Linked DNA regions of Homo sapiens: region 1 is linked to region 2. Evidence: promoter capture Hi-C in 16 types of primary human blood cells and fetal thymus (Javierre and others, 2016). All regions are on one chromosome and are shown on one strand. Each heading gives the region's core, a stretch centred on a gene start or on the middle of the fragment in contact. The rest is flanking DNA. Distances are from core to core; before and after follow the strand shown.

Region 1 (6,768 bases), core at 3,063-5,562, 440 kb after region 2:
TTCTCCCAGAGGATAGGGAGCGGGTCAAGCATGGCTGCCAACAGGTAGTAGTCCAGACTTATGCCGCCTGAAAGGATCTCTTAGAAGTCCCGTTAGCTAATCCTGACCTTAACCTATATACCGATGGAAGTTCATTTGTGGAAAATGGGATACGAAGGGCAGGTTATGCCACAGTTAGTGATGTAACCGTACTTGAAAGTAAACCTCTTCCCCCAGGGACCAGCACCCAGTTAGCAGAACTAGTGGCACTTACCCGAGCCTTAGAACTGGGAAAGGAAAAAAGAAAAAACGTGTATACAGATAGCAAGTATGCTTATCTAATCCTACATGCCCATGCTGCAATATGTAAAGAAAGAGCGTTCCTAACCTCTGGGGGAACCCCCATTAAATACCACAAGGAAATCATGGAGTTATTGCACTCAATGCAAAAACCCAAGGAGGTGGCAGTCTTACACTGCCGAAGCCATCAAAAAGGGGAAGGAGAAGGGAGAACGGCAGCATAAGCGGCTGGCAGAGGCAGGGAAAGACCAGCAGAGAGAAAGAGGCAAAGTCAAAGACAGAAGGAAAGAGAGGAAGAGACAAAGGAGTCAGAGAGAAAGAGATAGAAGTAGTAAAGAAAAAACAGTGCACCCTATTCCTTTAAAAGCCAGGGTAAATTTAAAATATATAATTCATGCCTGTAATCCCAGCACTTTGGGAGGCCAAGGCGGGCAGATCATGAGGTCAGGAGTTTGAGACCAACTTGGCCAACATGGTGAAACCCCGTCTCTACTAAAAATACAAAAATTAGCCAGGTGTGGTGGCGGGCGCCTGTAATTCCAGCTACTCCAGAGGCTGAGGCAGGAGAATTGCTTGAACCCGGGAAGCAGAGGTTGCGGTGAGCCTAGATCATGCCACTGCACTCCAGCCTGGGTGACAGGGCAAGACTCCATCTCCAAAAAAATAAAAATGAAAAATAAAACCTACAATTGATAATTGAAGGTCTTCTCTGTAACCCTGTAACACTCCAATACCACCTTGTTGTCAGTGTAAACAAGGGCATAGCCCAAAAGCACTGAGGCCACTGACAACCTGTAGCCTTCCTATCAAAAATCCTTAACCCAGCAGGTTCCTAACAGGGGATCTAAATCTGAAGGTCTGACCAGACATAGGAGGAACCCCCTTCAGGACAGGATGATAGATGTTTCCTCCTGGGCGATTAAGGAAAAAGACACAATGGGTACTCAGTACGTGATAAGGAAACTCTTACAGAAGCAGAGTTAGGAAAATTGCCTAATAATTGGTCTGCTCAAATGTGCAAGCTGTTTGCACTCAGCCAAACCTTAAAGTACTTACAGAATCAGGAAGGAGCCATCTATACCAATTTTAAGTGAATATGGACTGAACGAGGTCTTATTAATAGCAAAGAATAATTGAAATCCCAAACTTAAGGTTTTCAACAAAAGTAAAGTTTGCTAAAAGTTAACAGTGTAACACATATTATCCTAACTTCTAATCTTATGGACATCAGACCCTATCAGTGCCCCTCAAAGCTCAAGTCCATCAGCACAGGGCCATACAACTGATACCCCTACTTATAGGGCTAGAAATGGCCACTGCTACAGGAACCGGAATAGCCAGTTTATCTACTTCATTATCTTACTACCACACACTCTCAAAGTATTTCTCAGACAGTTTGCAAGAAATAACAAAATCTATTCAGTAAGGATAGTAACTACAATCCCAAATAGACTCTGGCAGCAGTGACTCTCCAAAACCCCCGAGGCCTAGACCTCCTCACTGCTGAGAAAGGAGGACTTTGCACCTTAGGGGAAGAGTGTTGTTTTTACACTAACAAGTCAGGGATAGTGCAAGATGCCGCCCGGCATTTACAGGAAAAGGTTTCTGAAATCAGACAACGCCTTTCAAACTCTTATACCAACCTCTGGAGTTGGGCAACATGGCTTCTCCCCTTTCTACATCCTGTGACAGCCGTTTTACTATTACTCGCCTTCGGGCCCTGTATTTTTAACCTCCTTGTCAAATTTGTTTCCTCTAGAATCAAGGCCATCAAACTACAGATGGTCTTACAAACGGAAACCCAAATGAGCTCAACTAACAACTTCTACCGAGGACCCCTGGACCGACCCACTGGCCCTTTCACTGGCCTAGAGAGTTCCCCTCTGGAGGACACTACAACTGCAGGGCCCCTTCTTTGCCCCTGTCCAGCAGGAAGTAGCTAGAGCAGTCATTGCCCAATTCCCAACAGCAGATGGGGTGCCCTGTTTAGAGGCGGGATTGAGAGGTGAAGCCCCTGGACTTCCTGGGTCCAGTGGGGACTTGGAGAACTTTTCTGTCTAGCTAAAGATTTGTAAATGCACCAATCAGCACTCTGTAAAAACGCACCAATCAGTGCTCTGTGTCTAGCTAAAGGTTTGTAAATGCACCAATCAGTACTATGTAAAAACGCACCAATCAGTGCTCTGTCTAGCTAAAGATTTGTAAACGCACCAATCCGCACTCTGTAAAAATGGACCAATCAGCACTCTGCAAAATGGACCAATCAGCAGGACATGGGCAGGGCCAAATAAGGGAATAAAAGCTGGCCACCCAGCCACCAGCACCCAACCTGCTCTGATCCCCTTCCGCTGTGGGAGGTTTGTTCTTTTGCTCTTTGCAATAAATCTTGCTGCTGCTCACTCCTTGGGTCCGCACTACCTTTATAAGCTGTAACACTGACCACAAATGTCTGCAGCTTCGCTCCTGAAGCCAGCGAGACCACAAACCCACCAAGAGGAACAAACAACTCCTGACGCACCACCTTTAAGAGCTGTAACACTCACTGCGAAGGTCTGCGGCTTCAATCCTGAAGTCAGCGAGACCACGAACCTACCAGAAGGAAGAAACTCCAGACACATCTGAACATCTGAAGGAAGAAACTGGACACACCATCTTTAAGAACTGTAACACTCACTTCGAGGGTCCGCGGCTTTATTCTTAAAGTCAGCGAGACCAAGAACCCACTGGAAGGAACCAATTCTGGACACACCAGGAGCTGGAGACGAGCCTGGGTGTGCAACACAGAGAGACAAGACCCCCATCTGTACCAAAAATAAATAAAAATAGGAAGACTGGATCATATTAAGTCTGTTCTCCAAGAAAACCAAATTAAACGGCTGTGGAGATGTACTATGTCTACACATGTACAAGTGCTTACACAGTGGCCACGCTGGAGGAACCACGTGGAGAGACAGGCTCCAGGCCTTGAGACCCCAAAGCCTAGGAAAGCAGAGAGCACTTCACCAAGAGCATGGCTTTGGTCTACAGGGGTGAGAGTTTCCAGCCCGTCTAAGCGTTCCTTGCTGCTTAATCTCTCTGGGCTTGGCCTATGCGGGGGTCCCTTGGGGGCCTGGGCCGCTGGGAGGGGTCCTCCCTCTCACGTCCTGGCGGTCCGCAGCAAGGCCCTGAGCAGGCCTTACCTGGTAGCCCACCACCTCCGCCAAGTCGGGGTAGACGGGCGGCGGCTCGCGCAGGCAGCACAGGAAGAAGGCCGTGTCAAAGCGGCGAGTGGTGCCCCGCAAGAAAGGGGTGAGCCAGGCGCTCCAGTTGTGCAGCGCCCAGATGTCGGGTGTGCAGTCGAGGTGGGCGCACAGCCGCAGGAAGTGGCGCGGGTCCTGGCGCACGCGGTCGCGCCAGGAGGCCAGGCCCGGCGGTGGCTCCAGGGCGAGGCCAGGCCCGGGTGCTGGGCCTGGTGGGGAAGTCCTGGGCCGCAGCAGCAGCACGCCCGCCTCCTCAAAGGCCTCCCGCACGGCGCAGATGCGGAAGGCTACGTCCTCAGGCAGCGTCCCAGTGTTGTCGGTCTTGTGGTCATCGGTGTCGGGCAGCGACGGGAAAGCGGTGCGGCTGAATGGCGCCGGGCCCAGGCCGAAGCGCGGCGGCCCGTGGTGCGGCGCGAAGAGGCCCAGCCAGTCCGCCGAGCGGTCGGCCGCATCCAGCACTCCGCCGGAGAAGACGTGCGCGCCCGGCATGAAGCCTTGGTGCGGGGAGCGCTGCAGCAGCAGCAGCCGGAAGCCCTCGGCCGGCGGCGGGCGCGACGGCGGGGTGGCGGTCTCCGGGCGCGACCAGCCAGCCGCCAGGACGATGCTGGCCGCCCGCCGCCAGCGGCTGGGGCCCGGCCGCAGGGAGCTGCTCATGGCGCGCAGCTTCCCGGATCCGATTCTGGCGCGGCCTGAGCTCCACGGCAGGTGGCCCGGCCCTGCAGGGACCCCAGCACCTCCGGGGGCCTCGCGGGAATTGAGGACGAGCCTCTGGCGTTGGGTGAACCTGGGCGTTTGGTCGGCAACGGCGCCTGCCTGTGGGAGGGGCACCCGAGCAGGGACCGCCTCGAGTGCACTGGGGCCCAGCTAGGGCACTCTCGCGGGACAATGGGTGTCACGGCAGCCAGCGACCGTTTGTCATTCACAGCTGCCTGAAAGGAGGACCGCAGTATTCCCACGCAGGAAGCTTGGACCAAAAGCAGGAATGCTTAAGGGCGCATATGACTTGCCATGGTAAAAAACAGGATGCCAACCCAGGCCTGATGACATCCACCTCACTAAAAGCTAAGGACTAGGACTTTCTGCTTTAAACAAGGACCCACATGTGGGTGTTTTCTGTGGGAGAGGGAGAGAGGACATTCGAAGGGCAGAAGTCTGACCTTTGCAAGCACACGTGAACCACACCAATGAGAAATGAATGGACGAGCCAGATGCCAATTTATAAATTTCCTACTGCACACCTTGAATGTGAAAGGTACTCCCAGAGTAATTTCTCTCGTGTTCTGGTTACCTTTTATTGTCAGGGCGCCTGGGGACGGCCTTAGGTGTCTTAGGACATTTGACGAGTTCCACTTTGATGGGAGATGTTTAATCTGGGCCTCCACATGGAGATTTCTCTCCACCTTGTTAGTGTCTAGAAGACTTCCACCTCCAATAGCAGGATTATGATCTTTTGAAAAGCCTGTGTAAATTTGAGTCTTTTCTTTTATAACTCCTTATCAGTCACCGACAGCTTTTCCCATAATTGCTATTATAATTGGATCACACATTTGTTATGTTTTTGGATGAAATACACTATACCCCTGCCGACCCTCACAAACCATCATTTTAATGTGGGTTATTTCCTGGGTAGAATCCACAGATGACATTGTCAATATTTAGGGGTTTTGTTTGTTTTTTTGTTTGAAGAGACCTGGTCTCTGGCCAGGCGCTGTGGCTTACACCTGTAATCCCAGCACTTTGGGAGGCCGAGGTGGTCGGATCACCTGAGGCCAGGACTTCAAGACCAGCATGGCCAACATGGCAAAACCCCGCCTCTACTAAAAATACAAAAATTAGCTGGGTGTGGCGGCCCGCGCCTATAGTTGCAGCTACTCAGGAGGCTGAGGCAGGAGAATCACTTGAATCTGGGTGGAGGTTGCTGTGAGCCAAGATCCTGCCACTGCATTCCGGCATGGGTGACAGAGCGAGACTCTGTCTCAAAAAAATAAATAAATAAATAAAATAAAAATACAGAGCAATGGAGAGAAAGGCACTCAGGTGATTAAAGTAACATGTCTTCAATACTAGGAGTAATAATAATCCTAGGGGATAATAATATTAGTAGTTACTGGGTACAGTGTGTGAGGCACTAGGAACTTTATTAGTATTAGTTGTGTAATTCTTACAAAACCCCATGAAGTGGAAACAGTTACCACTATTTTACAGATGACTAACCATTTATGGAGGGATTAAGGGTCTTAAGAACATACTACTCCCTTTGCTGTAAAATAACACCGTGGTTTTGTAGGTGAATGTGTGTGTTTCAACATCAGCTGGTTTTCACAGAAGCTGGTTACTCATGAGTGAGATGACCAAGTCCTGGTCCTGGGTGCATAGCAAAACAACAGAAACTGAACCTTTTTTTTTTTTGAGAGGGAGTCTGGCGCTCTCACCAGGCTGGAGTGCAGTGGTGCGATCTCGGCTTACTGCAATATCTGCCTCTCGGGTTCAAGCAATTCTCCTGCCTCAGCCTCTGGAGTAGCTGGGATTGCAGGCGCATGCTACTACGCCTGACTAATTTTTGTATTTTTAGCAGAGACAAGGTTTCATCATGTTGGTGAGGCTGGTCTCTAACGCCTGACCTCAAGTGATCTGCCTACCTCAGCCTCCCAAAGTGCTGGGATTACAGGTGTGAGCCACCACACCTGGCAGAAACTGGACCTTAACCAACACAGAACAGTGTCCAAAATGTGCACACTGCCATGACTGTCATATTTGGGGCACTGAGATGACACAATTACAGTTTATGGATTCAGAGATCATGTCATATAAACTCAGTTATCTGAACTGTAGCCAAGAAATGATACAGAAGCAAAGAACTATCCATGAGCATTCAAAGAGATACAGATATCATATTCATATCTAAAGTGCTCTGCTCACAGGATAATTTGTGGATATGTTATTTACCTAATGCTGTTAACAAATTAGTCAAAAACTTGGTGGATTAAATCAATAAACACTTATTGTCCAGGCATGGTGGGTAATGTCTGTAACCCTAACACTTAGGGAGGGCGAGGCGGGAGGATAACTTGAGGCCAGGAATTCAAGACCAGCCTGGGAAACACAGTGAGACCCCTCCTCTTAAAAGAAAATTAGTGGGGAGGTGCAGTGGCTCACGCCTATAATCACAGCACTTTGGGAGGCCAAGGTGGGCGGATCACAGGTCAGGAGATCGAGACCATCCTGGCTAACACGGTGAAACCCCATCTCT
Region 2 (6,166 bases), core at 2,592-5,091:
TCATGCCACTGCACTCCAGCCTGGGTGACAGAGCAAGACTTCGTCTTAAAAAATAAAAGAAAAGAAAGAAAGAAAGAAAGAAAAGAAAACCAAAGTGTGATACTGTGTCATATTTGTTAGGATGGCTATCATCAAAGTCCCATAACAAGTGTTGGCAAGGATGCCAATAGTTGGAAACCTCCTACATTGCTGGTAGGAACGTAAAGTAGTGCAGCCACTTTGAAAAACGGGCGGTTCGGCCAGGCGCAGTGGCTCACGCCTGTAATCCCAGCACTTTGGGAGGCCAAGGTGGGTGGATCACCTGAGGCCAGGAGTTCAAGACCAGCCTGGCCAACATGGTGAAACCCCGTCTCTACTAAAAGTACAAAAATTAGCCGGGCATGGTGGCACATGCCTGTAAGCCCAGCTACTGGGAGACTGAGACTGGAGAATCGCTTGAACCTGGGAGGCAGAGGCTGCAGTGAGCCAAGATCACGCCACTGCACTCCAGCCTGGGCAACAGAGCGAGACTCCATCTCAAAGAAAGAGAAAATGTGTCATGGCCATGCAACAGAATATTACTTGGTAATGAAAAGGGAAGGGAGCACTGCTACAGGCTACAACATGGATGAACCTTGAGGACGTTAGCTAAGGAAATGAAGCCAGTCACAAGAGACCACGTATGGCTTGATTCTATCGCTATAAAAGGTCTAGAATAGACAAATCTATGGACAGAAAGCAGAATTGCCTGGTGTCGGCAGGATGGGTATTGGGGAACTGGGGAGTACAGTACTCTGAATACCCTAGAAACCACTACAGCTTCTATGGTTAAATTATATGGTACGTGAATTATATCTCAGTAAAACTGGGGGGAAAAAAAGAGGACAGAGCAGGGAAGCCTGAAGATGTCACCCCCCCCACCCACCCACCCCAGCTCGCGCATGGCGACACGTCCCAGGTTGAGCTGCGGAAGTGTGGGGGTGGGGGAAATGTTGGAGGCAAGACCAGGGGTGTGGCCTGGAAGGCAGTGTCAGGGTGCTGGGCTGAGTTGGCAGGAGGACAGGGGTGAGGGGATGCGACGGTTCAGGGCGGCGGTGGCCTTCCGGTTGCAGGTGATGCGGGGCGGGGGGGGGGGTGTCGGGGACGTGCAGGTGGAGATGCAGGGGATGAGATGATACCCCGCCTCTAGGGGGCTCGGGGACACGAGGACACTGGAACGCGGGCTCCGTTGCCAGGGAGCGTGGAGAGCTGGGACCGGGCTTTTCTCCGGGGGAGTTCGCTAACCCCGTCGGGCCAGGCCGGGGCCGCGCGTGCAGGGTTGGCTCCCTACCCCAGGAGCGGCCCCAGTCCCCGGGACATGACCTGCGCGGCCCTCCCGCACCGCCCCCGCCTCTGGCGACCCCAGCCCCTGCCGCCCCTGCAGGGTTTGGGTTATCTCTCTCATTAGGAAAACCCAACTATCATTAAAAATTGAAATTAAATTGGCTGGGTGCAGTGGCTCACGCATGCAATTCCAGTGCTTTGGGAGGCCCAGGAGTGAGGATTGCTTGAGGCCAGGAGTTTAAGACCAGCCTGGGCAACATGGCGAGACTCCCCCTCTCTACAAAAAAAATCAAAATTAAAATTAATAATTTAAAAAATATATAATTTAATTTAAAAAATAGGAAAACAAAAAACCTAGAACTCCATCATGGAAAAACATTAGCAAGAGGGGGGAACCATTCCGCTACCCCCACCACAGGCTTTTCTGGGGCTCTCGTTTCAGGTTTTTTTCTGCACACAGTCCCTTGGGATCCACTAGGTAAAGGGGTCCCAGGGGCTGCAGAGAGAAGTCCCCAACACATGAGTACATTTCAGAGGTGCTGACAAAGCTCATGCAGAGGACAGAGCAAAAACAAAACGGTTCTTCTATGCGTAGCGTTCATTCACATATTCCACAAATAAACCTCAAGAGCCTCCTCCCCCATGGGGCCTGGACCTGATGCTGCAGCTCAGCAGCCACCTAGGAGCAAAGTCCCTAACCTCGAGGGGCCAGTTGCTGGCAGCCAGAGGACACCTTGAGGACGGAACGGGGATGTCAGACCATGGCATGAGGCACGGAGGAGACAGTGGCCCTGGCTACTTTAGACGGGCGGTCAGGGAGGGCCTCCCCAAGAGCGCAATACCGTGGGGGCAGGGAACCGCCAAGATCCCTGAGGCCAGACCTGCTTGTAGGTCAGCAAGACAGGGGGATGGGGGAGGAGAACATGGAGAGGTGCCAGATTTGAAATGGCCTGGAAGGCCACAGGCAGATCGCCAGACTTCATCTTAAACATGCTGGGAAGCCAGGCAGAGGTTTCGAGGAAATTATTAAAAACACACTCTGACATCTGCATGTGAGTGCAATAAATCAAGGCCAAGCATGAAACGCTACTTATTGAGAATGTTCTTTATTGGGTTTTTGTTTTGTTTTGTTTTTGAGATGGAGTGAGATGATCTCAGCTCACTGCAACCTCTGCCTCCCGGGTTCAAATGATCTTGCTGCCTCAGCCTCCTGAGTAGCTGGGATTACAGGCACGCACCACCATGCCTGGCTAATTTTTGCATTTTTAGTAGAGAAAGGGTTTCACCATGTTAGCCAGGCTGGTCTCGAACCCTTGACCTCAAGTGATCTGCTCATCTCGGCTTCCCAAAGTGCTGGGATTACAGACATGAGCCACTGCACCCAGCCAGTTTTTCTTTCTTTCTCCTTCTTTCTTTCTTTTTCTTTTTCTTTCTTTCTTTCTCTCTCTCTCTCTATATTTATTTATTTATTTATTTATTTATTTATTTATTTATTCTGGAGACAGTCTCGCTCTGTTGCCCAGGCTGGAGTGCAGTGGCACAATCATAGCTCACTGCAGCCTTAAACTCCTGGGTTCAAGGGATCCTCTTGCCTCAGCCTTTCAAGTGGCTGGGACCACAGGTGCGCCCCATCACACTGGGCTAAGTTTATTTCTTGTAGAGACGACCTCTCACTATGTTGCCCAGGCTGGTCTCAAACTCCTGGGCTCAAGTGATCCTCCCACCTGGGCCTCCCAAAGGGCTGGGATTACAGGTGTGAGCCACCTTGCCTGGCCCAATTCATTGTTGTTATTATTATTCTGAGTTTCCCGTTTCTTCTGACGCTAACTGTATCTCCTGGACGGGGAGAGCTGAGCCACCGACCCTTGGGCTGCAATTAGGAGCATCACTGTGGGTGGGCCTACCTACGGAGACTCCAAGGTCTAGATGGGGTCACATGGTGGGGCAGAGCCTCCTCCCAGCGAAGAGTCCTGGTTCCCCAGCAGGTGGCAGTGCGGGGAGCCCCCGCCGGCATCCCCAGCACGCCCTGCTCAGGTGGGTCTGACCTTTGCCCACAGATGTACCACAGATGGGGAAATGGGCCTAGGGCCTCGCTGGGGGTCCTGGTGAAGCCAGGTGGGTTTTCCATGGGTCCCCCGACAGCTCGAGCGCCTTCCTCCCGTGTGGGGAACAGGCCAGTGCCCCCTCACCCCAGCGGCGGTTCTGACCTTGGAGAGAGGGTCCTGGTCGCCCCAGATCAATTTCTCCGGCACCTGGTGCTTCTCAGGCAACAGATGCGGTGGTGGTTCCCTGTCCAAGGCCAGGGGGTCGAGGGTGGCCAGCAGGTGCGTGTGCGGGATCGACAGCTTGAAGCGGCCTAAGGCCCTCGCCATGGTCCCCCAGGACAGCTTGCCGGGACAATACTCGCTGGCGGGGGCGGAGGGTGGCGGCAACTTGCATTCCCTGTCATGGGCTGTCGGGGAGCACCGCGGCGGGGAGGCCATCTCGAAGCCCGGTCCGCCGGTGGCCGCCGACAAGCCTGGATGGGAACGGTGGCGCCGCGCGCCCGCGCCCGCGCCCGCACCAAGCCCTTCGGAGGCGCGCGCTACGCTGGGCCCGCGACTTCGCTGCCTCCTCGCCCGCTGGGTGAAAACTAGTGCCACCCCGCGCAGCACAGGTTACCTATAGAAAAATGGGCTTTGCAGCCGGGCGCGGTGGCTCACGCCTGTAATCCCGGCACTTTGGGAGGCCGAGGCGGGCGGATTACCTGAGGTCAGGAGTTGGAGACCAGCCTGGCCAACAGGTTTAGTGAAACCCCATCTTTACTTAAAAAAAATAATAACAAAAATTAGCCAGGCATGGGGGCGTGCGCCTGTAGTTCCAGCTACATGGGAGGCTGAGGCAGGGGAATGGCTTGAACCCAGGAGGTGGAGGTTGCAAAAAAAAGAAAAATGGGCTTTGCATTCTGGGAACCAGGCCGAGCCAGCAAAACCAGCACCCCAGCCTCCAGCCCTCCGCTGTGGTTTCCCTGGCTCCTGTCACAGGGCAATTTCTTCATGTCCTCTGCCTGGGTACAGCTCCTGGCCAACCCACTTCATGACAAAACAGAAAAGGTCAGTAAGTTATGGGGTAGCCCCTGCATGAAATAAGATGCAGTTATTAGGGGTGGGTTTACAACATTTATAATAGATGAGGGAAATATCTGTCACAACCCCAACAACAGTGACAGGGAATAAAATGCTACCACCAGTCAGATAACAGCCCCATAGCTAGAAAAGGACAGGGTGGAATTATTCAAAATATTGAAGAAGGGTGTCATCTTTGGATGATAAAACTAAAAGTGATTTTCTTCCTTCTTTTTTTTTTTTTTTTTTTTTGGTGGAGACAAGAGTCTGTCACCCAGGCTGGATTGCAGTAGCGCAATTTCGGCTCACTGCAACCTCCACCTCCAGGGTTCAAAGGATTCTCGTGCCTCAGCCTCCCACACAGCTGGGATTACAGGTGTATGCTCACCAGACCTGGCTAATTTTTTTGTATTTTTAGTAGAGACAAGGTTTCGCCATGTTGGCCAGGCTGTTTTTGAACTCCTGGCCTCAAGTGATCCGCTGGCCTCGGCCTCCCAAAGTGCTGGGATTACAAGCATGGGCCACCGCACCCGGCCTCTTCCTTCTTTCTGCTTTTAAAATTGTTGTGATCTATGATGCTACTTTCATAATGTAAAATACAAATGCTCAATACTTTATTTTTTGTGGAGACAGGGGTCTCTATGTGGCCCAGGCTGGTCTGGAATTCCTGGGCTCAAGCAATCCTCCCGCCTCGGCCTCCCAAAGCTCTGGGATTACAGGCATTAGCCATCACACCTGGTCTGCACTTTATTTTTCAAAAAGGTCTCCTTGGTACACATGAGGTGGCCTCAGAGCAGGGAGCTGCAGCCGTGTAACCCAGGCTGTGGGTGCACATTCTCCTGCCTGGTTTCCCTGCCTGTCTCAGACACTTTAGTGACATCTACCCTGAGAGGCTGAGGCCCCCTGCCAGGCCCTGGCTCTGCCCTCCCATGGGGCTTCCTGGGCACCAACAGTAACCCAGCCACCCAGAGAGGGAAGAGCTTCACTCCCAAAAAACGGCAGGAGGGGCCGCAACCGCCCCTTCTCACACGCTTGTCCTTCAGTGAGTCCAGGCTGTCTTCATCACAAAACCAGAGAGAAGCCTTCACTTTTAACTTCTTTTTTAACGTCCCAGGAAATTTTTTAAAAATCAAGAAGAAAATAGAAAAATTCCACTTTAATTAAACTGTTCAGTCTGGATTTTTTTCCCCCGATACTAACTGAAATTAAAAATAGAAATCAATTTCTGCGACCTTTCAAGGCAGTCTTTGAAATGTCAAGGTTTTAAAAATTATTTTACAGCAGGAATTTACATATAAATACACTCTGTACAATGCGTTAACTGAACAATCACTGGGCTTCCATCATGGAGGAGAAATGATTCTAGGACGAGCCAGGGCAGCATTCAATTACTGCCTTCTTAGTGGAAGACTTTTCAGCCTGGAAAAGAAAACAGAAAAGAGAGAAATGGAAAGTTAGCTAAAGTGAAAAACCAAACAGCTCCGTGGAGGCTGAGAATGCCAGGCCTCCCCATATCACAGCAGCATGTCTGCACCTACAAAATGCACTCACAATAACCCACAATGAAGTACTGCCTAATCTGTGCTTTTTTTTTTTTTTCCCCCGAGATGGAGTCTCACTTTTGTCGCCCAGGCTGGAGCGCAGTGGTGCGATCTCAGCTCACTGCAACCTCCGCCTCCCAGGTTTAAGCAAGTCTCCTGCCTCAGCCTCCAGAGTAGCTGGGATTACAGGCACATGCCACCATACCCAGCTAATTTTTG

What was found. The method cuts DNA at HindIII sites, captures the fragments that hold promoters and counts their contacts. A CHiCAGO score of 5 or more calls a contact.
Region 1: the fragment with the promoter of NUDT19 here is called in contact with the fragment with the promoter of WDR88 in region 2 in 2 of 17 cell types (total CD4 T cells and erythroblasts); the score reaches 7.1 in total CD4 T cells.

What each region holds. Positions count from the first base shown.
Region 1 is chr19:32,689,365-32,696,132 of GRCh38, reverse strand. NUDT19 (nudix hydrolase 19) reads right to left here and starts at 4,312. Exons shown (of 3, transcript NM_001105570.2): 1 at 3,459-4,312. The coding sequence starts at 4,172. It overlaps NUDT19-DT (NUDT19 divergent transcript), which reads left to right and starts at 3,837. Exons shown (of 2, transcript NR_186320.1): 1 at 3,837-4,770. LOC124904690 (a long non-coding RNA gene) reads left to right here. Exons shown (of 2, transcript XR_007067226.1): 2 at 2,039-3,168. RefSeq lists a silencer at 3,940-4,349. The HindIII fragment of the contact is 6,189 bases long and covers 1-4,484 here.
Region 2 is chr19:33,129,789-33,135,954 of GRCh38, reverse strand. WDR88 (WD repeat domain 88) reads right to left here and starts at 3,841. Exons shown (of 11, transcript NM_173479.4): 1 at 3,510-3,841. The coding sequence starts at 3,785. GPATCH1 (G-patch domain containing 1) reads right to left here. Exons shown (of 20, transcript NM_018025.3): 20 at 5,413-5,825. The coding sequence ends at 5,795. RefSeq lists enhancers at 948-997, 3,835-4,004 and a silencer at 1,078-1,197. The HindIII fragment of the contact is 21,697 bases long and covers 1-6,166 here.